Linked DNA regions of Homo sapiens: region 1 is linked to region 2. Evidence: promoter capture Hi-C in human tissues and cell types (Jung and others, 2019). All regions are on one chromosome and are shown on one strand. Each heading gives the region's core, a stretch centred on a gene start or on the middle of the fragment in contact. The rest is flanking DNA. Distances are from core to core; before and after follow the strand shown. Region 1 overlaps OLFM1 (olfactomedin 1). Region 2 holds the start of MRPS2 (mitochondrial ribosomal protein S2).

Evidence for each region. The method cuts DNA at HindIII sites, captures the fragments that hold promoters and counts their contacts. A contact is called where the count stands out against the background at its distance.
Region 1: a fragment that was not itself captured here is called in contact with the fragment with the promoter of MRPS2 in region 2 in 1 of the 25 tissues and cell types used here (H1 embryonic stem cells).

Annotation. Positions count from the first base shown.
Region 1 is chr9:135,095,698-135,101,995 of GRCh38, forward strand. OLFM1 (olfactomedin 1) reads left to right here. Exons shown (of 6, transcript NM_001282611.2): 3 at 167-322; 4 at 2,589-2,808. Among named protein-coding and RNA genes, the nearest start is that of OLFM1, 11 kb to the left of the region's middle. RefSeq lists an enhancer at 2,432-2,933. The HindIII fragment of the contact is 4,387 bases long and covers 1,763-6,149 here.
Region 2 is chr9:135,499,323-135,503,474 of GRCh38, forward strand. It overlaps MRPS2 (mitochondrial ribosomal protein S2), which reads left to right and starts at 1,360. Exons shown (of 4, transcript NM_016034.5): 1 at 1,360-1,431; 2 at 1,676-1,801; 3 at 2,522-2,651. The coding sequence starts at 1,389. PIERCE1 (piercer of microtubule wall 1) reads right to left here and starts at 547. Exons shown (of 3, transcript NM_001048265.2): 1 at 387-547. The coding sequence starts at 529. It overlaps LOC101928525 (a long non-coding RNA gene), which reads right to left. Exons shown (of 3, transcript NR_121579.1): 3 at 3,951-4,152. RefSeq lists silencers at 650-819, 1,090-1,259, 1,470-1,629 and an enhancer at 1,585-2,209. The HindIII fragment of the contact is 18,925 bases long and covers 1-4,152 here.

The sequences.
Region 1 (6,298 bases), core at 2,706-5,205, 400 kb before region 2:
CTCACAGTCCGCGATGCTGGCGATTACCTTGTAAATAATGCATGGGCCACTTCTGGTTCCCAGTGTGCTGGCTGTGTGGGAAAGGGCAATGTCTGTACGAGCAGGCAGAGAAGATTGCCTGGCACCTACTGCGGCTGTTTTGCTGAACCTGTTGCCCTTTTGACAGGTGCAGAACATGTCTCAATCCATAGAGGTCTTGGACAGGCGGACCCAGAGAGACTTGCAGTACGTGGAGAAGATGGAGAACCAAATGAAAGGACTGGAGTCCAAGTTCAAACAGGTGGAGGAGAGTCATAAGCAACACCTGGCCAGGCAGTTTAAGGTATGCATGTTCCTCCCCCTCTCCCTCCCCTTATCCTCCTCCTCCTCCTCTTCCTCCTCCTTCCCCTCCCTCCTCTCCTCCTTCTCTTCTTCCTCCTCCTCTTCTCCTCCTCTTGCTCCTCCTCCCTTCATCCTCCTCTTCCTCCTCCCTCTCCTTCTTCTCCTCCTCTTCCTCCTCCTCCCCCTCTTCATCCTCCTCTTCCTCCTCCCTCTCCTTCTTCTCCTCCTCTTCCTCCTCCCTCTCCTTCTTCTCCTCCTCTTCCCCCTCATCCTCTTCATCCTCCTTTTCCTCCTCCCTCTCCTTCTTCTCCTCCTCTTCCTCCTCCCTCTCCTTCTTCTCCTCCTCTGAGGCTGGGTGTGCTTTCCCTTCATGCTCTCCCTTTCCCTACAGAAATGGTCATTTGGGGCAGGGAGAAGCATAGCAAAGGTTGTTCTGTGCCTTGAAAGGACTGTTGCCCTTGGCAGTAGGGAGGCCACCACTGGCCCTGGCTTGGCAGAAGCCACCTTGACAGGGGCGGCCTGAGTGGTGGCAGCAGCATACACTCGCCCCCAAGCCCCCGTCAGTGTGGTTTGGAAGCCAGGGGTCTGAGATCCTGCGCTGCCCGAGCCAAGTCGAATATTAGCTGGGAAGGGACATCGTTATTGGCCCTTGTCATTCTGCAGCTGCTGCAGGTAAATCACATTAGCCAAAGATTAGCTGAATTGATGAGGGCCATTCTGGAGCAGGAATCTCTCAGGGCAGTTTTCACATCTGACCTAATCTAGCCATGACAAAGCATACCATAGACTTGCAGGGAAAAAAGAGAGAGATGCCAGCCTCCTTTCCACCTCGTGGGAAGTGTTCTGCTTCTCCGGGTAACTCTGGACATTAAAACTGGTGTTTGTTTGACCTAAAATCATAGATACAGATGTGCAGCCAGGTAGAGAGATGCCCACAGTTGACTCCATCTCAGTGCGATTCGACTGAAACGTTATATGCCGCCTTAATGAAGGTATACATGCATTTTAATTAGAAATCCAGCCCAGATGTAAATGAACAGGTCAAATTACACAGCCTCGCCCGACTAGAAACTGCTGGTGTACTCTGTCTCTGTCTTCCCGTCCTTTTTATGCTAATGTTTTTCTTCGATGTGCTCCCTGCATGAGGCAAGAACTAATTCTCTTTTAAAAATGATACATTAAATAGATGAAATGGCAAGCTAATGAAATTATAAATCTATATTATAAATAAAATAATAGCAGGCCCAATCCTGTTGAGGTGAAATGAGCCGATTGTGCTCATCAGAGGCAGTTGGACATTTTTGTCCTCGCATCTGGCTGGTCATCATGAATTACTCTGGAGGGAGAGATGTTGACCTGTCTAACCAAAAAAGCATTTATGTCTCTGAGCCAGCACTCCCTTCTCTGCGGCCAGCAGACTCCTCTAACGAGGGGGGTGTCTTCAGCAACTGGGAGGTAGCTCATCTTGGCAAACGTTGTTGACACAGGCATCTCTCCGAGTTTCCAATTTTGGGGTGCTGTGGCTCTGGGGGAAGAAAAGCAAGCGCTTGCCTATACTGTGCTAAACCGCATTAAAAAAATTCCAACAGAAATTGTGACGAGGGAATCTCAATAACTCTTAAAGCAGTTTGTTTTGACTAACTCGAGCATTACAGTGGGATTTTTCTAACTGACCATGCAAATATGTGTTTCCTGATGGCTGTCTGTTTCAGGCAGGCTAGTGAGCTAGTTCTTCAACGGTATTTCATTTTCTTACTTGCAGGGCTAACTTAAAAGAGTTTTTTCAATGCTGCAGTGACTGAAGAAGCAGTCCACTCCCATGTAACCATGAAAGAGAGCCAGAGAGCTTTTTGCACCATGCATTTTTACTATTATTTTCCAATACTTAGCACCATTTCACTAAGGAACCTTGAATACAACCAGGATCCTCCTTTGCATGCGACTGTAGCTGCATTTCATGAATAGTTTGAACCCTTGTCAATGCATTTTTTGAAAAAGAAAGAAAAAAAAAACTTCGTGTATGTGACTCAAAGCATGTAACCTTAAGATGTTGCATTCTAAACTGACAATAAAGACCTTTCCCAAATATGCTGGTGTTCTGAGGACTGTTTAATATGCTCTTCTAACTCATTTGGACCAGAACAAATAAGCCTGTAAATAAAGCGGGAATATACACACTTTCCCTCACCTAGGGAGAAGCCAGGCCAAGGCAGGGTGTGAGAGTTCTTGCATGCATCGCACTGAACCAGCTTATTTTAACCTTGCAGGCGATAAAAGCGAAAATGGATGAACTTAGGCCTTTGATACCTGTGTTGGAAGAGTACAAGGCCGATGCCAAATTGGTATTGCAGTTTAAAGAGGAGGTCCAGAATCTGACGTCAGTGCTTAACGAGCTGCAAGAGGAAATTGGCGCCTATGACTACGATGAACTTCAGAGCAGAGTGTCCAATCTTGAAGAAAGGCTCCGTGCATGCATGCAAAAACTAGGTAGGCCCAGTACCCTGCGGGACGTGGCGCTGCACTGCCCACCTCCGGCACACGCACAGGCTTAGGGAGTGGTGCTGAAGTGGACAGCGCCCGCCTGGCTTCGCGAGGTGATGGCTGGATTAGGGCTCCTGGGCAGGTCTACCTTGAGAGACAGCAAAGGAGGAGCGTAGGCCACACCCATCCTAGGGCATTGTTCAGAGCCGGGTCTTGTGCAGAGGCCACAGACCCCGCTGAGTCGCACATCTGGAAAAAAATAGCATACCATCTGGCAGATTGTGTGTGTGTGTGTGAATCGTATGTGTGTGTGCATTGAAGACACCAGTTTAATAGGGCTGGCAATAACATCTCAGATTCCTCCGGATTGAGAACGGGGGCTGGTGGAGCTCCTGAAATATTGAATCATGCATAGTTTGAATAAAAAAGGGAACAAAATTCAATCACATCTCAGTAGAGCTGCCATTCACAGCACGGGAGGGAGCCCCTGCTCACAGCCTGGAAGGGGAGGAGCCTCTGAGCAAATGAACCCCTTCCTCGGGTGTGTTTCCTAAGAAAGACCCCCAGTGTGGGGTGACCCATTTGGATTCTTATTTCTGATTGATTACCCATTCACCTTATCAACTTTCCAGTTAATTACTAGGAGAAATATTAACACATTAGTGTCTGAGTCTGCTTTTAAATAGCACATTTCAAATCCCAATTCCACTTTTAATTTTTCTTAAGAAATATTAGCCATCCGTCCTCACCAAGCTGTTTTTGTTTTTTGTTTTTTGTTTAATAACACAAAGGTTGTTGTTTTCATACTACCTACTTTTTAGGGTAACTTAGGGTAATTTTAGGGTGATTTTGCCTTATGAAGTTTATCTCAGGCTTTCTCTGATGTTCTAACTGGATTACCTTTTTATTTCTACTCTCCCTTCCACACACACACACTCCAAGTGCCTTACTATAAACCTAAAACATCCAAAAAGAACACTTTAAAAAAAAACCTCTAATGTTAGTCAGGTGAAGAGAGAGAATATTCAAGGGGAAAGAAAAGAGTCAGCCAAACCCTTGGTTTCCCAGGTTCCCAATTTAGGTGATTTTTAAACGCTCTTCTAGGTGTCCTCAGTGAACGCACAAAGCTTTAAATTCCCCAGTCCCGAAACAGAGACAATAAGAAATGCTTGGAGTCAGAGAACTAATCCATTTTGATGTGTGCATGCTGGCTGTGTCTCACGGGGGCTGCTAACTGCATTCTTTCAGCTCTGTGCTCCATGGTGCCCAGCCCTGGTATGACAGTGGCTGGGTGATCTCAGACAGTCCCAGGAGGGGGGTCTGGGCCAGATGGCCTCTACCATGGCTTCCCAATTTGACTTTCTAGGAGTTGGTGTGAGTGTTTGACTTTCTAGGAGTTGGTGTGAATGTTAATGATGATAGGGCTGTATTAACGATCATGGGGCTATATAACTATTGCCCTTGGGTACTGTCTTCGGCTTGCTACCCATCGTGACCTTGAGTGACCTCACCATTGCCCCTCTCTCCAGGACCTCCAAACACTCCCACTTATGGGGTCTCCCTCGGCCTCCGAAGAATCCAGTGGTGGGGTCTTTTTGTTGTTGTTATGTATTTCCCCATGAGCAGTGTCTTCCCTCCCTGGAATAGACAGGGCACATCATGGAGAAACCCAGAGAAAACCTCCACATTTTCCAATCAAGGAATCAAGGGAGCAAAGTGAGGATTTGGAGTAAAAAGTTGCAAATAGTGAGAAGCCAAGGGCCTTTCTGAGGGGGCACCACCCCTCCCGGATGAGCTGGCCTTCCCATCTGTGCTTGGCCTATTTTTAGTAGCTGGGTGAGTTTACCTTGCAGCTTAAAATCTTGGGTCTTGTGAAAGAGATCACATGGCCGTCCTTGGGCTGCTAACACCATTGATTTGGGAGTAAAGAGAGAGGGTTAACAGGCCTCCAGAGGCCCTCTTTCTCCCACCTTTGGAGTGCAGCTGCCTGGTTTCACCTCTGCGTTTAATTCTTTCTTTGGAAGGGCTGCGACACGTAGGCGGAGCTGCTGAATCAGAGCGTCTGCAGGTGGGGCCCTGGCATCTGCCCGTAGCCAGCACCCAGCTAATCTTGACACACAGCAAACTGAGCTCCCCCGTTAGAGGAGGCAGTTTTGTAAGGTAGTAAATGCCACTCGATAGCTGTGCGACTCCCCCAAGGCATTTCCCCTCTCGAGTTTCAGCTGCCTCCTCCTCTGTAAAATGGTGCAGGGAGTCCCTGAGCTCTGGGGTAATTCATGGAATGGTAATTCATGGAAGTCCTTCAGATCCTGAGCTCAGCACTGTGCCCAGCAGAGGAGGTGCTGGTAGGCAGGTAGGTCGATGGATAGAGAGGTGATGACAGCTGACTGATAACTGGATAGGTAGTTAGATAGATAAATGATTGATTGATTGATTGATTGATTGATAGATGATTGACACATAGATAGAGTTAGCAGCTGCTGACCTTCCTCCTCCCTCTTCCCAGGCTTTCATTCAAGCTCAGTAACTTAAGCACCAAATTAATATCCTGCAGCTGCTTAATTTAGCTTCATTTTAGCCTTGCAAATAGGTACCCATCTCAGGACCACCCTGGCAGCCTGTTCCCTTGCTGGGAGGTTGCTGAGGAGCCCGGCCTTCTGCAAGGTGGAGCCGGCACCCGCTGCCGGCCGTCCTGGGTGGTGAGGGCTTCTGTGAGACGTGGCCTCCAGTAGTGGGCAGTTTCCTCCCCTGTCCCGGACCCCGCAGTTTCTTGGTGTGCCTGCTGTTCCTGCTGGTGTGAAGTGTGACTGCAGGTTCCATGGTCTAGTGAACAGGGTCCGGGTTCCCTTCCTGCAGTAAGCCTGGAGGAGAGGCTCTCCCAAAGTCTTCCTGATAGTTCTCTCCTTGCTGCTACCTTCTTCAAGTCACTGTTGCTGACAAGCCCAGAACATACTCAGAAACAGAGAAAACAAGGACCAGGGCTCCATCAGTTTTCAGTTTCCAATTCTGAAGATCCCTCTTTTGATGGCATTATATGATTTTCCTAATGGCCCAGCCAGAAACTTGAATCTGAACCTCTCCTCTCGGGCATCCTCTGGAAAGGAGGCAGTTTGCCGGTTCCCCTGGAGCAAGTCTTGTTGCCAGGCAAGGGGAGAGTCAGTGCTGCCCCGTGCCCCTGGCCTCGTCCCCTGAGCTGGGCGTGGGGCCCTCTCTCCAGGGGAGCCTGCAGAGTCAGATGCCCCAGCAGCAAAGCTGAGCGAAGCCAGAAGCGTGAGGGTCAGTGCACGATGCTGCTCTACCCATGGAGCTCCCGGGGCGTGGCATGTGCCTGTCAGCTTCAGGCCTCCGTGGTCCTCTCTATAAATGAGGGGTGAGGGGGCCAGCTGATTTGAAGGGCTCCTCCCAGATATACCATCCTGGCACTCTGGTGCTAAAGGCTTCCTTAGTTTCTTTTTTTTCCCAAAGCCTGGGAAGCCCCCAGACACCCATAAGCACA
Region 2 (4,152 bases), core at 110-2,609:
CTTAGCCTGCAATGCCCTGTGGCAGCTCAGAGCTGGCTGAGTCTACAGCAAGACAGTGGAGGTGCTGCTGTGCTCACGCCCCGCAGCGGAGTTTCAGGGTAGAGAGGAGAGGAGACTCACCCGACACAAATCAGTGGAGCTGAGACCACAACTGGGCTTTCTCCCCCCACGGCCCTGCCCCCCACTGCCCTTATCCCCACTTCCTTGTATGAGGCTCTAGGGAGCACGGTCGCCGCTCACTGGCGGGCGATGACAGCGCGGGCCCCGGATGACCACTCGATCTTCTTGATTTCTGTAGCTAGGACCTTGGGGGTCTTGCGGGGTCTCTCACACACGGGGCTATCGAGCAGTGGACGCCAGGACCAGGCGGGCCCCAGCTTCCTCACCTGTAGCCCCGGAACCACCCCGGGTTGTTGAACCTGCCCGGCAGGTCCGCGCTCACGCGGTAGTAGTCGCTGGTCCTCTCCGGCGGGGCCGTGGCCTTGGGCGCCACAGGCTCCGCGCACGCTCTGGGGCATTCCTCAGCCATTGTGCCTGGAGGAGAAGCGGGACTCGGCGGCGTCCTGTTGCCAAGCGACGGCCAGGTCACGTGACTGGGGAGCGAGCGGAGGGGCCTTAAAGGCGCCGCGCGTGGGCCGGGTTCCTCTGCGGGTGGGTCCGGAACCTGCCGGGCGACTCCCCAAGGGCCGGGAAGGTCGGGACGGCGAGAGATTCCCTGCTGGGACCGTCGTGTGAGGCAGCCCCAGGCCCCCAGCCACCCGCGGGGGGACCGGGCCACCCCAGCATCAGGGCGTGGACTCCCGGGCGAAAGAAACCCCAGGGCCTGGGACCCCGCCAGCCGGGTGACGGGGTTTAAGCACTGCAGGTCCACTCGGCAGGCAACGATTGGACTTTTGCTGTCCAATGTACTCCAGGGATGCTATGCCCCCCAGCACCCCGAGTCTAAATTGAGACCCGAGATCTGGCTAACTTTATGAAATTCTCCTAAGCCAAATATCGTTTAAATATTACAAACAGTTTTGGAGAGCGAGAGGTTGCGCAGGACGTGGTTCACAGCTCACTTGGCGGGAGGCGAGGGTCCCCATCGCCCAGCGGGCTTCCCCAAGGGTCAGGGGCCTCCCGGGCTGGCCGGTCCCATTAGCAGGGCGGGGCGAGCTGCAGGGCGAGGACCGTGGCTCCACTCCCCGCCCGAGACTCTCAAGCCCAGGACCCCGGGCCCTGACCCCTCGCGTGCCCCGCCCCCGCAGGGAGGTCCCAGCCGCCTGGGGACAGCGCTGTGGCTCCTCCGGGCCTGTAGGCGGCACTGCGGCCCCGCGCGGATGGCGACGGAAGGGGAGGCCGCTCGGCCTGGCCTGGAGGGAGACCTCGCTCTGCCCCGCGTCCCAGCCATGGCGACATCCTCGGCCGCGCTGCCCCGAATACTCGGCGCGGGTGAGCGCGCGCTTGCGGGACCCTGGGGAGGAGCATGCGAGGAGGATGCGGAGGGGCGCGGGGACCCGATGGAGCGGCGGGGACGTGGAGGGGACCCGGGGCGAGCGCGGAGGGGACTCGGGGAGGGCGCGGGGACGCGGAGGGGACCCGTTAGGGACGCGGAGGGGCCCGTTGGGGATGCGGTGGGGAGCGGGCGTGGTGCATTCGGGACTCGGCGCCAGGACCTCTATCTACTTCCCCCCAGGTGCCCGGGCCCCGTCGCGCTGGTTGGGCTTTCTCGGGAAGGCGACCCCCCGGCCTGCTCGGCCGAGCCGCAGGACGCTTGGAAGCGCGACGGCCCTTATGATCCGCGAGTCGGAGGACAGCACCGGTAACACTGGGCGCCCAGCCGAGTTGGGTGGGAACGAGGAGAGGCCGGCAGCCGCGGGGGATGCGAACCCTAGAGGGGCCTGGGCGCTGCACGCGGTCGAAACTGCGCGCTCCGCTGGGCTCCTCCCACTCCCGTGCTCGCCGCCGCTCGGTCCTGCCTGACGTAGCACAGCGGGCTGAGGCCACCGCCTCACCATGGATAGGGTGAGAGGGAGCGGGCGGGCCAGTGGTTAGCACAGGCTTCGCTCCCTAGGGGGGTGTCACTGGACCACCGAGGCCCGGAGCCCCGAGCTCGCCCAGGCGGGCCCAAGTGACCTGGGGGCACTGGGCTTGGAGTCTGCCCACCTTGCTGGACTCCTGATGGGGACTTTCTGGCTGGCCACCTGAGACCACAAGGCGGGGAGGTGCCAGAAAGACCTGAGCAACCCGCTGGGCCCCTCTCTTTTTCTCCTCTGTCTTCCAAGTAAGACCAAGGGACGGGGTTGACCAGGTTCGACCAGGCTTACCCAGGAGCAAGGTCGGGATCAGAACCTGGCTCCAGCCCTCTGTTTCCTGAAAAGGTCCCTGTGCTTCCAGGTCTTTCCTGGGGCTGCTGGGCTCCCGGCTCCCCACCTCGGTGTCACAGAAGGCACTTGGGAGCAGGGGTGGGCGGGAACTGCGCTCTGCCTGTCTCTGCTGCCACCGGTGGGAGACGCAGCGTCGCTCCTCCTCCCTGCCGTAGATTTCAACGACAAGATTTTGAATGAGCCCCTCAAGCACTCTGACTTCTTCAATGTCAAGGAACTGTTTTCCGTGAGAAGCCTCTTCGATGCCCGAGTCCATCTGGGACACAAAGCTGGCTGTCGGCACAGGTAGGTGACACCCCCATCTGAGCCCGGGGCGGTTCCCAGGAGGAACCTGGGACCTGCTCTGGTTCTAGGGCCACTTTTGAACTGGCCTATGTCAGTTTTAGGTGATTACAGCCCCATCCTCCTCCACATGGGAATACAGAGCCCCACAGAGAAGCAGGAGTTTATTCCTCAGCTTGGCGGACGCTCTTGTGTGCCTTGGTGTGGCGCTCACAGCCCTTGATAGGGCAGGCCTGCTGGGGGTTGCAGGACTCCACGGGTTCAGAAATGGAAAGGCTGAGGGCAGAACCTGTAAGGTTGGTCCCCCCGGATCGGGCTGGGCCTTCTGGGCTGCGGGGAGGAGGAATGACTGGTCCTGTATTCTCACATGGTCATTTTGACTGCTGTGGGGGGAGGGGATGGGAGGGGCAGGTGGGAGGCCAGGGAGGAGGTTGGTGTGGGCGTTCAGGGTGAAGGTGGCGGGGCTTAAATCGCAGTAGCGGAAGAGCTGGAGCAGCAGGTGGACATGAGGCAGCAGGGCAGAGCCAGTGGGCCTTGGGCTGGGGTGGGAGGTGGCTGGGGCCGAAGGGATCAAACACCTGCTCTTCGGGTGGAGCCTGGTACTGGTTACTGAGATGGTGAAAACCAGGGGAGACCTGGGGGACATCACAAGCTTGGTTCCTACCAGGTATGAACCCTTTGCTGCCCCAGTGGAGAGGTCACACGGTTACCAGGAGGGATGGGCCTGGGCCCAGGGAGCCATCAGCATCGGGGGCTGGCAGGTGTTTCCAGAGCATCGGAAAAGGAGGTCCAAGGTGGAGCCCTGGGTGCTCCAGTGTTTGGAGTCAGTGAAGAGGGACAGCCGGGGGTAGGGGAGATGTGGTTCTCTGTTGATGCTGCTGAGAAGTGAATTCAAGGCTGTGACCTTGGCAAGATGGAGGTCGCCAGTGCCTTGATGGGCAGGGTTGCTTGAGAGGAAGGGACAGAACCCAGTGGGAGTAGACTGGAGGTGAGGACCTGGGAACCGCAAATGTGGATGACTCGCCTGTCACGCACCGAGAGGCGGGGGTGTCTCCCATGCCCCGCTTTTCTCAGCCCAGGCCAGCAGTGGTCCAGTGCTTTGGATCAGGGTTCCCCGCCCAGGCTTGGCCACTCCTGCCCTGATCCCTTAATGCTTTTGGCCCAGAGCACCCCGCTAAGTCCAACCCCAGAGGGGCCTCATCCGCAAAGCCTCGGGAAGAGGACAGTGACGGAGGCGGCTGCCCTGTGAGCTGCACGGGGCAGAATGTCCTTTTGGCGTCATGTTGGATGTCCACACATCCATATGGGGTCAGTTCTATTAGGATTCCTTCGGGAAGAGGTAGAGGGTAGGAGGGGTTAAGCCACGAGACGAGGCATGCAGAGGGGTGGCCTGGATGGGTCTGCACTGCTGTCCATGCACACGGGGAGCGTTGCAAATTGTGCTTCCCAGCCCATAGTGCCCCCACAGAGGAGCCCGGGAGTCCCTGGTGGGCGTCTGTGTTCC